Regions from separate parts of the Homo sapiens genome. Here region 1 is linked to region 2. The links are contacts of gene promoters, found by promoter capture Hi-C in blood cells and fetal thymus (Javierre and others, 2016). All regions are on one chromosome and are shown on one strand. The core of a region is centred on a gene start or on the middle of the fragment in contact, and the rest is flanking DNA. Distances in the headings are between cores, read along the strand shown.

Region 1 (6,083 bases), core at 680-3,179, 2.3 Mb before region 2:
TCCCTGCATCTCATTTTTTAAAACCATGGAATGAGGAGATTGGACCAGATGATCATTTTCCAGACTGCTTAGTTGAACACAAGCATCCCATGGTATATTATTAGGTTTTCGTTAAAACAGAGGGTTTCATGGTTTAATAAATTAGAACACTTCCCATTTTATTACTTTTTTGAAGAAGAATTTGCCTATTTAAGTTCTGGAAAATTCGGATGTAACTTCTCCAAAAACTGAACCACAGAGTACTTATTTCTCAGAACATTTGTTAACATCTTAGTGACATCAGGGTTATGATTTCTGCAACTTCCAGAAGCAACTGTGCTGTAACAGTTCTAAACTAATAGTCAAACCACTTAAGTTGTAGTCCTGACTTTACCGTCTTGGACAAGTCACTCGACTGAATTAACCAGAGGCATCCCTTACCTTCAGATGACATCCGGTAGCTCAGTTTCTCCGTAAATAAAATGGGGATAGCACTAGTAATTTTATAGAATTGCTGTGGCAGTTAAATGAGACTATGTGTGTAATTATCAGTGTCTCACACGTGATAGGTATTTAATAAATGTTATTTATTTTTCCCTTTTGACTTTAAGACATTAGACTAAAATCCTTATTATTAGATTCTGTGAAGGGAGAAAATAAGGTGATGTGATTGATTATTTTGAAGTGTTCCTGTTAATTTATAGGTTTCAGAAGGTTTTTTGTTGTTGTTGTTTATTCATTTTATTTTTATTTTTTTGGTTTGTTTGTTTGTTTAGAGATGGGGTCTCATACTTTTGCCCAAGCTGGAGCACAGTGTGCAATCACGACTCACAGCAGCCTTGACTTCCCCAGCTCAAGCGATCCTCTCACCTCTGTCTCCTGGGTAGCTGGGACTACAGGCATGCACCACTGTGCCCGGCTTCCTAGGTCTTAAAGTTTTAATGGGTACTTGCAGTCTTTTAAATTAACTGTGAAATCATAATGAAGTTAGACTCACTTATATTGAGCCAAAGACCTAATGCTGCATGCCAGTATTCCTTTGATATCTTGCGTGTTTTTGTTTGTTTTGTTTCGTTAATAACTTGAAATTTTATTTTAGATTTCATACTGTTCTCATAGGATAGGGAAAAGCTATGCTTTCCATAATTAGGAATTTTGTTATTATGGGATAGGCAACTGGTTTACTTAGAGAAATAGTGCTGTGGATAATTCAAGTTGCTTTTATTTAGTCTGGGAATGAACCAAGCAGTTCTTTAAAATTAATTTGCTTTGTCACTTATAGTAAGCATGTGCTTGTGTTGAAATTACTGTAGGTTTTCTTTATGTCATTTGGGTAGTAGGAGGAATCTGCCATTGAAAGTGCTGTATCTTTGGACTTAAAAGAGAACTTCCCGTGAATAATCCACAAAATTTGTTTGAGTCTTAAATATGAGTTTCTGTAACTTTTTAAAGTTGGCCTATATCATAGAACTTCAACTGATATAATGGAACACAATGGGTTTTGTGTGAATATAGAAAAAGTATTTTATTTGATTTTTCAGTCCTTAAAACCTTAAACGTTTTCTATATCAGTGCTGTGAAATAGGAATTGTGTGATCTATATGGAACAGAGGAAGCATTTTTATTGAAGTTTTTAGGCTCCTTTACATTTCTTAATCTTTTTATCAGAAAATAAAACAAAGTTAGCTTTAGTCATTGCTGAAGCTTCCAGTAAGAATCTCTATAAGTGGTTTTGTAGTCGTGTGTAATCATATGTTGGTATATGGCATACATTTAGCTGTCTGGTATAGATACATAAAATTAGGTATGGTTTTCACATTCCATTCAATTTTCTCACTTGCTCTAGTGTAAGTAATAAACTTTCATCCTGATACAACTTGCTCTTGTGAGAGAAAGAATCACATAGATAACTTAGAAAATGCTAGAATAAAATCTGATTTCAGACCAGTTGAAGGGAGAATTTTGACCACTGTTTGGCAATATCGTGTAGATTGATGGGCCTGATAGAGGTTAGCAATTAATGCCTAAGGACACAATCTGATTTTTGACGACAGTGAAATACCATGGCAAAAATGACACAGTGACTACAATCATTTATCTCTTTTCCCCTATAATAAATATCCTATTAAAGTGATAGTAAGTGAGGATAAGAAAGGGTAACCCTAAAACAACAGATAAGGAGCCACCAAAGCTTGAGATTTTGAAATATGTATAAAAGATTAAAAAACCAATGGAGATATGGTTATTAATGAAGCAGTGTGGAAGAAGTCCCAGCTTAAGTATATGTGTTCAGGGGACGTAGTTTAGGGAAAAGCCGAGCTGCTGCAGAACCTCAGAGAGGTTGTGGGTGTGTTGATATAAGATAGGATAGAGAGTTAGATGGATGTAGAACTTAACACAGGGGGATTAGTTTAAGTTGTACTACAAATAGTACACAAATGTTTCCCATGCAGGTCTAATGCATGAGGGTTGTGTTAGTTCCAACTGTAAAAGTGAATGAAGAGCTGAGAGGGAAGTAGGACCCCTGATGGTGTTGGTGCCCCAGCAGTACTCTGCATGCTGGTATTTGGGGACCCCAGCATAACAGCCAGCCTCCTACCCATTCATCTCTGTGGGAACACAGAGTTCCCAGTGATTTTTTCTAGTCTTTTTAATATAAACCAAATAGTCAAGGATCACCTAACTTAGGCTTTCATCGCTACTGTTCTACCAACTGCTTTTTGTCAGGGCTACCTGTCACCTCCATGCTGCGACCTTAATGGTCAGTTTGAAGTCCTCATATGACCTATCAGCAGTACTTTTTACAGTTCATCACTTTCTCTTTGAAACACTTTTTTTGTCTTTCCCAGAGGAAACTGCTTTCCTCTGGGATGCACTTTGTCTTAGTTTTGATGCTTCTCCTTCACATTCTCCCTTGCTGAACCTTTGTCATATTTCCGAACTCTAGCCTTTGAAATGCCCAGGGCTCAATCCTCAGCCCACTTCTCTATCTATACTGCCTCTCTAGGGCAGGTGTTGGCAAAGTTTTCTGTAAAGGGCCGGATAAGGAATACTTTAGGTTTTGCGAACCATTCAGTCTCTGTCACAACTACTCAGCTCTGCCATTGTAACATACAGCCATGGACAGTAAAAGTATGACTGTGGTTATGTTCCAATAAAACTATATTTACAAAAATAAAACCAGGCCATGTGACAGATTTGGCCCATAAAGCCAGAGTTTGCTGACCATTGCTGTTGCTCTGGGTGATCCCATCAGGTCCCATAGTGTTAGACGCTGTTTATGATTCCCCAATTTATAACATTAGCCGCATCTCTTCTTGAACTCAGAATTTACACATCCAGCTTTCTACTCTGTATTTCTACCTAAATGTTTAAGATACAACTCAAGATTAACAGCACAAAACAGAACTCCTGACTCCCCACCCTCACCGAACTTGTTTCTCTCTTTAGTTGCTAACCCATAACCTGGGCATTCTTCTTGTCACCTTTTACTCTTATCCCACAGCTAACTCATTAGCATATTTTTTTGAAATGTACCAAAAGACAATTCCTTCTGTCCACTTCCACCCTTCTCACTTTCTGTTTCACCATCATCTTTCCCTTGATCAGTTGTAACCTCCTGATTCTTCACCCTGCTTCCACCCTTAGCCCTGTATAGTCTACTTTCCATACAGCAATCACCTTCATCCTTTTAAAATGTAAGTCAGATAATGTACAAGCTCTGCTGAAAATGCCAGTGGCTTTCCATTTCACTCAAAAAATTTTTTGAAATATGTACCATAGCATGTAAGGTCCTACTGGATCTAATACTGGGCTCCTCTCTGAATTCATTGCTTGCCACTTTTCCTTTTGATCAGTGTCCTCCTGCCATCCTGGCCTCCTTGCTGTTTCTCAGACATGCCATGTATGTTCTTTCCTCTGCACACCTGTGCTTTTTATGCCTTCAGTGCTCCTCCCTAGAGGTCTACTTGATCTCTTCCCTCACTTCATTCAGATCTGTGCTGAACTGTTACCCACCAGAGAGATCTTCCCTGACCATTCAATATCAAATATTACTCCTTCTGTTACAGTAGGTAGCTAGTCAGGCATGAGCAGGGCAGAAGAGGGCTCCCCTCCCTCAACACACACCAGGAATGACAGGCAAACATCAGGTGATGGTCAGGCAGTTGTTAACTGTTTCTCTAAAATATTAATTGGTTGCAGCCTGCACCAGGGAAAGGCAGTCTCCAAATAAACAGAAGCACCTGAAGCTGGTGATCAGCAGCTTCCCATGAGATCTCAGGAACTGGGTGAGTGGGCTCAAGCGTTTGCACTAAGAGGCAAAATGGCAGAGTTTGGTATGTGACCTCCTAGGGACATTCGACTGGTAAGGGAAGAACACCTCAAGTGAACACGCGTACAACTCCAGTAAACACGTTGCACATGGTCCCTTTCCCAAGTGCTGGGAGGCTACTGTGTGTGCAGACAGCCTGCCCCAAGGGAAGAATCAGGGGAGATGGGACACAAGATCCTGGAAGTATGCTAACATATAAAACCCCAAGTTGAAAGGTCAAACCGTGCATTTGTCTTTTCAAGTTGCCCACTTTGCCCTCTTCCAAGTGTACCTTCCTTCCCTTTGTTCCTGCTCTAAAGCCTTTTATTATAATAAACTGATTCCATCTGTAAAATTGCCTCAGCCTCTCCTTCTGCCTTCTGCCCCTCAGTTGAATTCTTTCTTCTGAGGAGGCAAGAATTGAGATTGTTGCAGAGCCATAGGGATTTGCCATTGGTAACGCTTCCATTATTCATTCTTCACTTTCCCTAATTTGTTTTCCTTTATCTTTATAGTGCTTATGATATGTGATAGAATAAACACATAATCATTGCTTCTGCACCCCAACTAGAATGTGATTTCCATAGGAACAGGGAATTGGAATTTGTATCTAGTATCTAGAACCATGCTTAGTACAGTGCATATATTCAAGAAATATTTACTGAATGAATTTAAGGAAAACTTAAAAATTAAATGGGAAAAACAAGAAACTTGAATTTTAGAAGGTCAAGTGGGTGTTCTCTATTACATCTGCTATAAAAAAAAGGAAGAGTTGGCTGTGAAGAAATGGCAATCAAGACCAAGACCTCTTTAGCAAATAACTTGTTAAAACAAGTAAGTCAGTAGAAGGTGTAGTGGGTTGAATGGTGTTCTGAGACACGAAGTTTGTGGTAGTTTCTTGCAGCAGTCCTAAGAAAAAGAATATAGATGAATTAGAAGATAAGGTAAATCTATCAGAAAGTAGAACAAAATGTCAGAGATAGAAAAAGGAGGCAAGAAGAAGTGACGTAGAGATTGAATCCAGAAAGTCCAACATTTGACTCATATGGGTTTCAGAAGGAAAGAACAGACAAAATGGAGAAGAAATTGTAAAAGGGATAATAGAAAAAAATCTAAGAATTGAAGGACCCAAGTTTTCTGACCCCCCCAGTCACATTATTATACAGCTATTGAGAGGATCCCACATGTCTTGCTGGGGGGTGGTCAGCTAACAGGCCTGCAACACTGAATGCTCGAAGACTGGAGTAATGCCTTTGAAATTCTGAGAGAAAAGAGTTTTCCTCCTAGAATTTTCTACCCAGCCAGCTGTCAATCTGGAGTGAGAACAGAGTAAAGACATTTTAGACATTTAACAACTTGAGAAATTGGCCTCACATGCAATCCTTCTTACAGAACACTTATTAGGGATATGCTTCTGCAAGACAAGTAAACCAAAAAAACGTGAATGCATGGGATCCAGAAAATGATAGATCTACACTGGAGAGCAAAGAAGCAGTCTTAGGATGCCCGGAAAGCATCCAGTTCATATTGCAGCCTGAGGATAGAGGGTTCCTGAAGGAGCTGTTTGGGTAAAGAGAGGATTCCATAATTTTGATGATATCCGTGAGGCATTGGAATAACTTATAGACGTGATTATGACAATGTAAGAAAGATAATTAGAAACACGAAGAAAAATAGAAGCTGAACCAAAAAAGGAAATTTAATTATAGCAGCATCCTCACCAAAAATAAACACATAGACAACGCTTCTCACACACCTGAGTGTAAGAATTATTTGGGATGTTTGCTAAAAA
Region 2 (6,809 bases), core at 3,818-6,317:
ACCTGAAGTGACTGGATCATGGGGATGGTTTCTCTCATGCTGTTCTCTGTTACTGAGTGAGTTCTCAAGAGATCTGATGGTTTTATAAGTGTCTGGCATTTCCCCTGCTCCCACTCACTCTCCTGCCTCCTTGTGGAAAAGGTGCCTGCTTCTGCTTCGCCTTCCACCATGATTGTGTTTTCTGAAGGCTCCCTAGCCATGCAGAACTGTGAATCAATTAAACCTCTCTATAAATCACCCAGTCTCGGGTATTTCTTTATAGCACCATGAGAACAGACTATTACAATGTTCATGTGTACTCATTGATTAACTCTCACTTATAAGTGACAACATGCAGTTTTTGACTTCCTGTTTCTGAGTCATTTCACTTGGGACAATGGCCTCCAGTTCCATGCATGTTGGTTATTATCCTTTTATTTTATTTATTGATTTTTAATTTATTTATTTCATGAATAAGTTCTTTAGTGGTTATTTCTGAGATTTTGGTGCAGCCATCAACCAAGCAGTGTACACTGTACCCAATGTGTAGACTTTCATCTCTCACCCCCTCCCACCCTTTCCCCCAAGTCCCCAAAGTTCATTGTATCATTCTTATGCCTTTGAGTCCTCATAGCTTAGCTCTCACTTATAAGTGAGAACATATGACGTTTGGTTTTCCATTTCTGAGTTACTTCACTTAGAATAATGGTCTCCAATTCCATCCAGGTTGCTGTGAATCCCATTATTTCATTCCTTTTCATGGCTGAGTAGTATTCCATAGTATGTATACACCACAATACTCTGGATTATCTTATTAGAAGCAGCCCTGCCTCTTCACAATTTAGTCATGAAAAAGGATAATCTCTATGAGCTCAGAGCTAGATAACCAAAACAAATCTGAATGAGTAGACTCCATTTTACACACTGATTTATGTCAACTAATTTCTTTAACTTGAGAGAAACTAATATTCATGTGGTTAAAATATTGTTATGAAATAATATAAAATGAAAGGTGAATCTGTTTTCCAACTCAGTCCTTTCCCTCCAAAGAAAGCTAGGTGTATTCTGTGTATCTTTCCAGAAATTATGCCAATAAGTATTTGAGTAATACTTAAGTAATAAGTAATTTTTAATTGAACGTTTACTCTATGCCAAGCATCTTTGTACACACAGGGGACAAGGAGTAAACAAAAACTATGTCACTCTAGTGGGAGGAGACATATATACATAAATTAATACTCATACACATATTATGTCTAAAAGTTACAAATAATCTTGTAACTAATTTAAGAAGAAGATTTAAGAAATAGAAGTAACATACAATGGAGTTGGTGTTTTATAGAGAGAGAGCTATGAGAGGGTGACATTTGAGTAAACACTGGAATCAATGGGAAGGAGGGAAACATGTATATCTGGAGTGAAAGCCTTCCATCCAGACACAGCAGCCAGTGCAAAGGTCTCAAGAGGGGGTTTGTCTGGGATTCAGGAAACTGCCCATGGCCCGTGTGGCTGGAGTGGGGAGAGCAAAGGGGAGGGACAGTGGTAGGAGGTAAGGCCAGAGCACAAACAAAGGGCAAGATCATGTGAGGCTTGGGAGACAACTGAAAGACGTTGGGTTTTGTTCTGAGAGAAATCAGAGGGTGGGGGTGAAGGTGTGGCACTGGGGGTCTTGAGAGAGGAGTGACATGATCTGACACATTTTCACAGAATCATTCAAATTGCTGTGTTGAGAACAGACTGGCAGTGGGGGTGGGCAAGGGTGGAAACACTGAGATTAGCTCAGTGCCAGATGATGATATTTCGGACCAGGTAGCTGAAGCGTAAGTTGTGACAAACTTTTCATAGTCTGAAATTTTCTCAAGGTGGCCCTGACAGAATTTTCAGGTGAGAAGCTGAGCAGCATGGCTCCAGAGTCTGCACCTGGATAACTGGAAGGATGGACTTGCCAACAACTGAGAAGCAGAAAACTGCTGATTGAGCAGATTTTGAGGGGAAGAGCATGAATTTGGTATTAGACATTTTAAGTTTGCCATATATATTAGACACTCAATATGGGAGGAATTAAGGCATATGTTTGCTGTTAAGACTGGTTTTCTAGAGCAGGAGAAAATGACAAGCAGGACAGAGAGTGAGAAGGAGAGGACTGTATCCAGTGCACACATGGAGAGTTTCCAGAGTGGAAAACACACAGATGTTTATAAAGTTACAGTCTGGAAGGCGAGTATGCAAGCACAAATGCACATAGTGAGTAGCCAGATTGACAGGAATTAGGGCAAAGTCTTTTCTGGAAGCTTCTATTTTCATAGTGAAATAAAGAGTGTCTTGTTTGAAGGAATTAATGAATCCCTTTTTACCCCCTTGCTTAAAACCCTCCATAGGCTTCCCCTCACCCTTGAGAATAAGATCCAAACATTTTATCACAGCCCACAAGGCCCCATGGGTCCTGGACCTGGACCTGCCTACCTCTCTCCATTGCCACAAATGCTTCAGTCACAGGGCCCTCCCCTTTGTGTCTCAGACAGATGACAAACTCGATCAAGCCTTGGCTTCTTTGACTTACTTGTTCCTCTGTCTGGTACGCCCTTTCTCTTGTCCTCCCAAGTCTGGCTCACTCTTCTCACATAGGTTTCACTTCAAAGGTCACCTCCTCAGGTCTTTCTTGAACATCTCATCTAAAATAAACCTTCCTCCCAACACATTATTTTACTATATATTTGTTATGTATTGTCTGCTGCTTCCCACAAGAATGTGTTTCATAAGAAACTAGCACTCTTAACCCACCTTATCACTCTCTCTCTGTCTCCTGATCCTATTAATCATTACATTATGTGTGTGTGTGTGTGTGTGTGTGTGTGTGTGTGTGTGTGTGTGTAGAGAGAGAGAGAGAGAGACTGAGATTTTTCTGTATTACCCATCTCCTCTAAGAGAATAGCAACTCTACAACAACAGGTACTGTGTCTATTCTATTTACTGTTGTGCTTCCTGACCTTAGAACCGTATCTGGCACATAACAGTTGTTCAATGAATATTTCTTGATGAACAATTTGGAAAGTCAGATGAAAAAATTGGATAGAGAGCATATAATAGAGAGCCTGGCATATAGTAAATCTTCAATAAATGTCACCTGCTGTGATGATAAAAAAAGACAGTCATAGCAACGATCATAAGCACAACTATGAAAGGCTGATGACTTCTCTTTACTCGTGAACCAATCTCCTCTTGTCTCATTAGAAATTTTGATTAATCACATCTCCCTTCTTCTTCATAGGTTCCTTGCCTTCAGCTGTCTCATATTTGCCCACAATTAAAACAAAAACAACAGTTAAAATATACCTTCCTTAACTCTGTATTTTCTTACTAGATACAACCAAGTATCTTTACAGTCTAGCAATAAAAAAGAGTTGTTTATACTACCTCACAGCTAGTTAACCAAAACAAATCTTGAATGAATAGACTCATTTTTCTTTACTGTTCTTATCTATAAACTAGTTTCTTTAAATTGAAAGAAACTACTTTCATCTAACTCAGTCTACCATCTAACTCAGTCCTCACTCTGCAAGGAAATTAGGCATATTCTGTGTATCTTTCCAAAAATTATGTATGTATATCCAGACATATTCTGTGTACATAACCGTGCACCTTGAATTTCTCTTAATAAATGAAACATCTTGGATAGCTTTCTAAAGTACACATAAAAAGCTAGGCCAGGCACGATGGCTCATGCTTGTAATCCCAGCACTTTGGGAGGCCAAGGCAAGGAGGATTGCTTGAGCCTAGGAGTTCAAGACCTGCCTAGGCAACACTGTGAGACCCCACTCCCTACCCTAATCCCCCCACCACCCCGTCTCTACAAAAAAATTTAAAAATTATCTGGGCTTGTGATGTGCCTGTAATCCAAGCTACTCAGGAGGTTAAGGTGGGAACCCCACTTGGGCTGAGGCCAGGAGTTGAGCCTGCAGTGAGCTGTGTTCAGCCTACTGCACTCTAGCCTAGGTGACAAAGCAAGAACTCATGTTTATTTAAAAAAAAAAAAAAAAAAAAAAGAGAGAGAGAGAAGAAAGGGAAAATAAGCATTATTTTTGGGAAAAAATCACTGTATTTAGAATAGCTTTCCCTCTTAGTTAATAAAAGTAACAAACCAGGCCAGGAGCGGTGGCTCACGCCTTTAATCCCAGCACTTTTGGAGACCGAGGCAAGTGGATCACCTGAGGTCAGGACTTTGAGACCAGCCTTGCCAACATGGCGAAGCCCCGTCTCTACTAAAAATACAAAAATTACCTGGGCGTGGTGGCGGGCACCTTGTAATCCCAGCTACTGGGGAGGCTGAGGCAGGAGAATCACTTGAATGCAGGAGGTGGAGGCTGCAATGAGCAGAGATAAGCACCACTGCACTCCAGCCTGGGGTGACAGAGCGAGACTCCGTTTCCAAAAAAAAGAAGAAAAAAAAAGTATCAACCCATTACTCAATGAGTTTTTCAGTCCTCGGTATTTATTTTCCCTAATTCAACCTCTGAGGAAGCCACAGCTAATGGAAACGAGTTACAGAGAGAGAGAAACAGGAGAAAAGCCTAAACTCAGATTTTCTAAGGCGCACAACAGGCTTGTCACGTTTCTGGACTGGACAGCGAATTTCAACTCTTGCTGTTGAAAGTTTATTTTAAACTGTTGGTGCAGTTTCTTTAAAAGACGGCAATTCTGTTTGGGTAGTGAAAAATACATGTATCTCTACCTAGTTTCGTCTACAGGTTCCAAACTTTTTAAGGATGGGGTGGAGGATGACGTTCGCTAGCTTTTGGCAGATAATAGTATTCTGGTATTCCAGGACCACCACTCTCTGCCCACTCCTGGGAGCCCCTCCCTTCGGCCCTCTCCTCCGACTCTCTGCTGGGCCCTTTAAATCCCCTCTCCTGTTTAGCAGTGGTCACGCCGCCCGCCTTGCGTCCCCCGCGCTGCTCCGCACGTGGAATGGCCCATGACGTCACGAGGCCACGGCTCAATCAGATGCGGCGTTTGGGAAATTTTAAATTTAAAGGCGGGGCGGCCTGTGAGCCCTGAAGTGCCGGCCGCGGAGGGTCCTGGCCATTTTCCTGGGACCAGTTCAGCCTGATAGGATGGCGGAGGAAGGAGCCGTGGCCGTCTGCGTGCGAGTGCGGCCGCTGAACAGCAGGTAGGGGGGCCACACCACGGCCCGGTGCCCGCTGGGCCTGCGGCGCCGCCCTGAGCCGGAGGGGCGAGGCCTACGATGTTTCCAGGAGCCGCTGCTTCCCGGCTCTGCTGTCTAGTGACTCGGCTGCTGGCCATCGTTTCAGGGTCTGTAAAGTGACAGGGGAGGATCGGAGATCTAGAAGATACTTTCCAGCTGCGAGATTCACTTAAATTTAACTCAGTCTCGCTGACATACAGACCTTCCCTTCTGTGCTGCTCTGCCTTGCGGCATCTGCTCCTCCCTGCCCCATTCCCCGCCTAGAGAAGTCGTATGGGACCGTGCCTTCCTGGCCCTCATCACAGTTAGTCATTTTACACCTAACTGCTGTCTCCAGACCCTCTGAAGACAAGGGCTAGTCTGTCTTGTCACATTACATTCAATCGTCACTCAAGATCATTCTACAAATATTTATCAATTTTTTTTTAGTGACTTTGTACAACACAGACACTCCCGTCATTGCCCAGTGGCTCTTCCATTCTAATGGGACGAGACAGAAAGTAAAGTTGAAAATGTAGGATGTTAAGTGGTGATATGTAGGTAATAAGTGCTAGGGAGAAAAAGCAGGAAGAGGAATAAATGAAATCGGTTTGCTTCACTAGCTTCTGGCCCTCGACCCGAAATGCTAACACTTTGTGTGTGTGAGAAATTTTTATTGAACACGGGGTTTAATAAATGCAAATACCAAGATCAGGAATTTCCTATTTTTGAGGAGCTCATTATCTAATGCCTTAAACGGCTACATAAAGAAACCATTAGGATACCTTTTGACAAGTGTTATGATGGGCAGGTAGAGAATGTTTGCTAGAGGAGTTATTAGCCCATCAGAGACGAAAGCTTCCCGTGGGGTGAACTGGTGTCAGAAAAGTCTTGACGCTTTTCATGAGTGAAATAATCCCTATGTTACTTAATGGAAAGGGAAGTCAGAGTATTCCAGGCACAGAGAGGTTACATCTGTCATTTGGGGAAGACCTTCAGGTAGAGCTTAGGATGTATCTAGGAATTCAGAGGAAAATGGAAGAGAGAAATGACATGATCTAGGACTCGTGCCCTGCTGAGGATTTCATAAGTTTCCAAAAGGTTTTAAGAATTTTAAGCAAGACAGACATAATCAGAGTTGCATTTTGAATCCATCCCTTTGTTTACCAGTACTGGGGGAGAGGGTGAGAATGAAAGCCTTCACAAGAAAACACTTTTGAGGCGGCAGAAGGTCACTGAAGCTCCATTTAAGAGTTGAATCCTCAAAGATGGACTTTCTGTCATTCTCTTATGTTACTATCTTTCAAAATATTCTTTAGCAGGTGAAATCTTTTCAATTATTCCTCCTATGACATGACTTTTATGACTGGTTAAAATGCGGTGTTTTTATTCTTTTAGAGAAGAATCACTTGGAGAAACTGCCCAAGTTTACTGGAAAACTGACAATAATGTCATTTATCAAGTTGATGGAAGTAAATCCTTCAATTTTGGTAAGCTTATAATAGCATCAAAAGTTACCTTGTTATCCTTTTGCTATTAAAAGTACAAAAGGCTTATCAATAATATTAGATTTGTCACTAAAGATTAGACTAAGCCTTCTATAAACTGCTTCACTGGAAACAAAATTGTTTATCCATCATGTATTTAA

What was found. The method cuts DNA at HindIII sites, captures the fragments that hold promoters and counts their contacts. A CHiCAGO score of 5 or more calls a contact.
Region 1: a contact is called between a fragment that was not itself captured here and the fragment with the promoter of CENPE in region 2, in 1 of 17 cell types (fetal thymus). The highest score is 5.1, in fetal thymus.

What each region holds. Positions count from the first base shown.
Region 1 is chr4:105,465,156-105,471,238 of GRCh38, reverse strand. All of the region lies in intron 1 of PPA2 (inorganic pyrophosphatase 2), which reads left to right. Among named protein-coding and RNA genes, the nearest start is that of PPA2, 5.9 kb to the left of the region's middle. The HindIII fragment of the contact is 487 bases long and covers 1,686-2,172 here.
Region 2 is chr4:103,196,601-103,203,409 of GRCh38, reverse strand. It overlaps CENPE (centromere protein E), which reads left to right and starts at 5,067. Exons shown (of 49, transcript NM_001813.3): 1 at 5,067-5,146; 2 at 6,560-6,651. The coding sequence starts at 5,091. RefSeq lists an enhancer at 4,651-5,205. The HindIII fragment of the contact is 3,749 bases long and covers 2,273-6,021 here.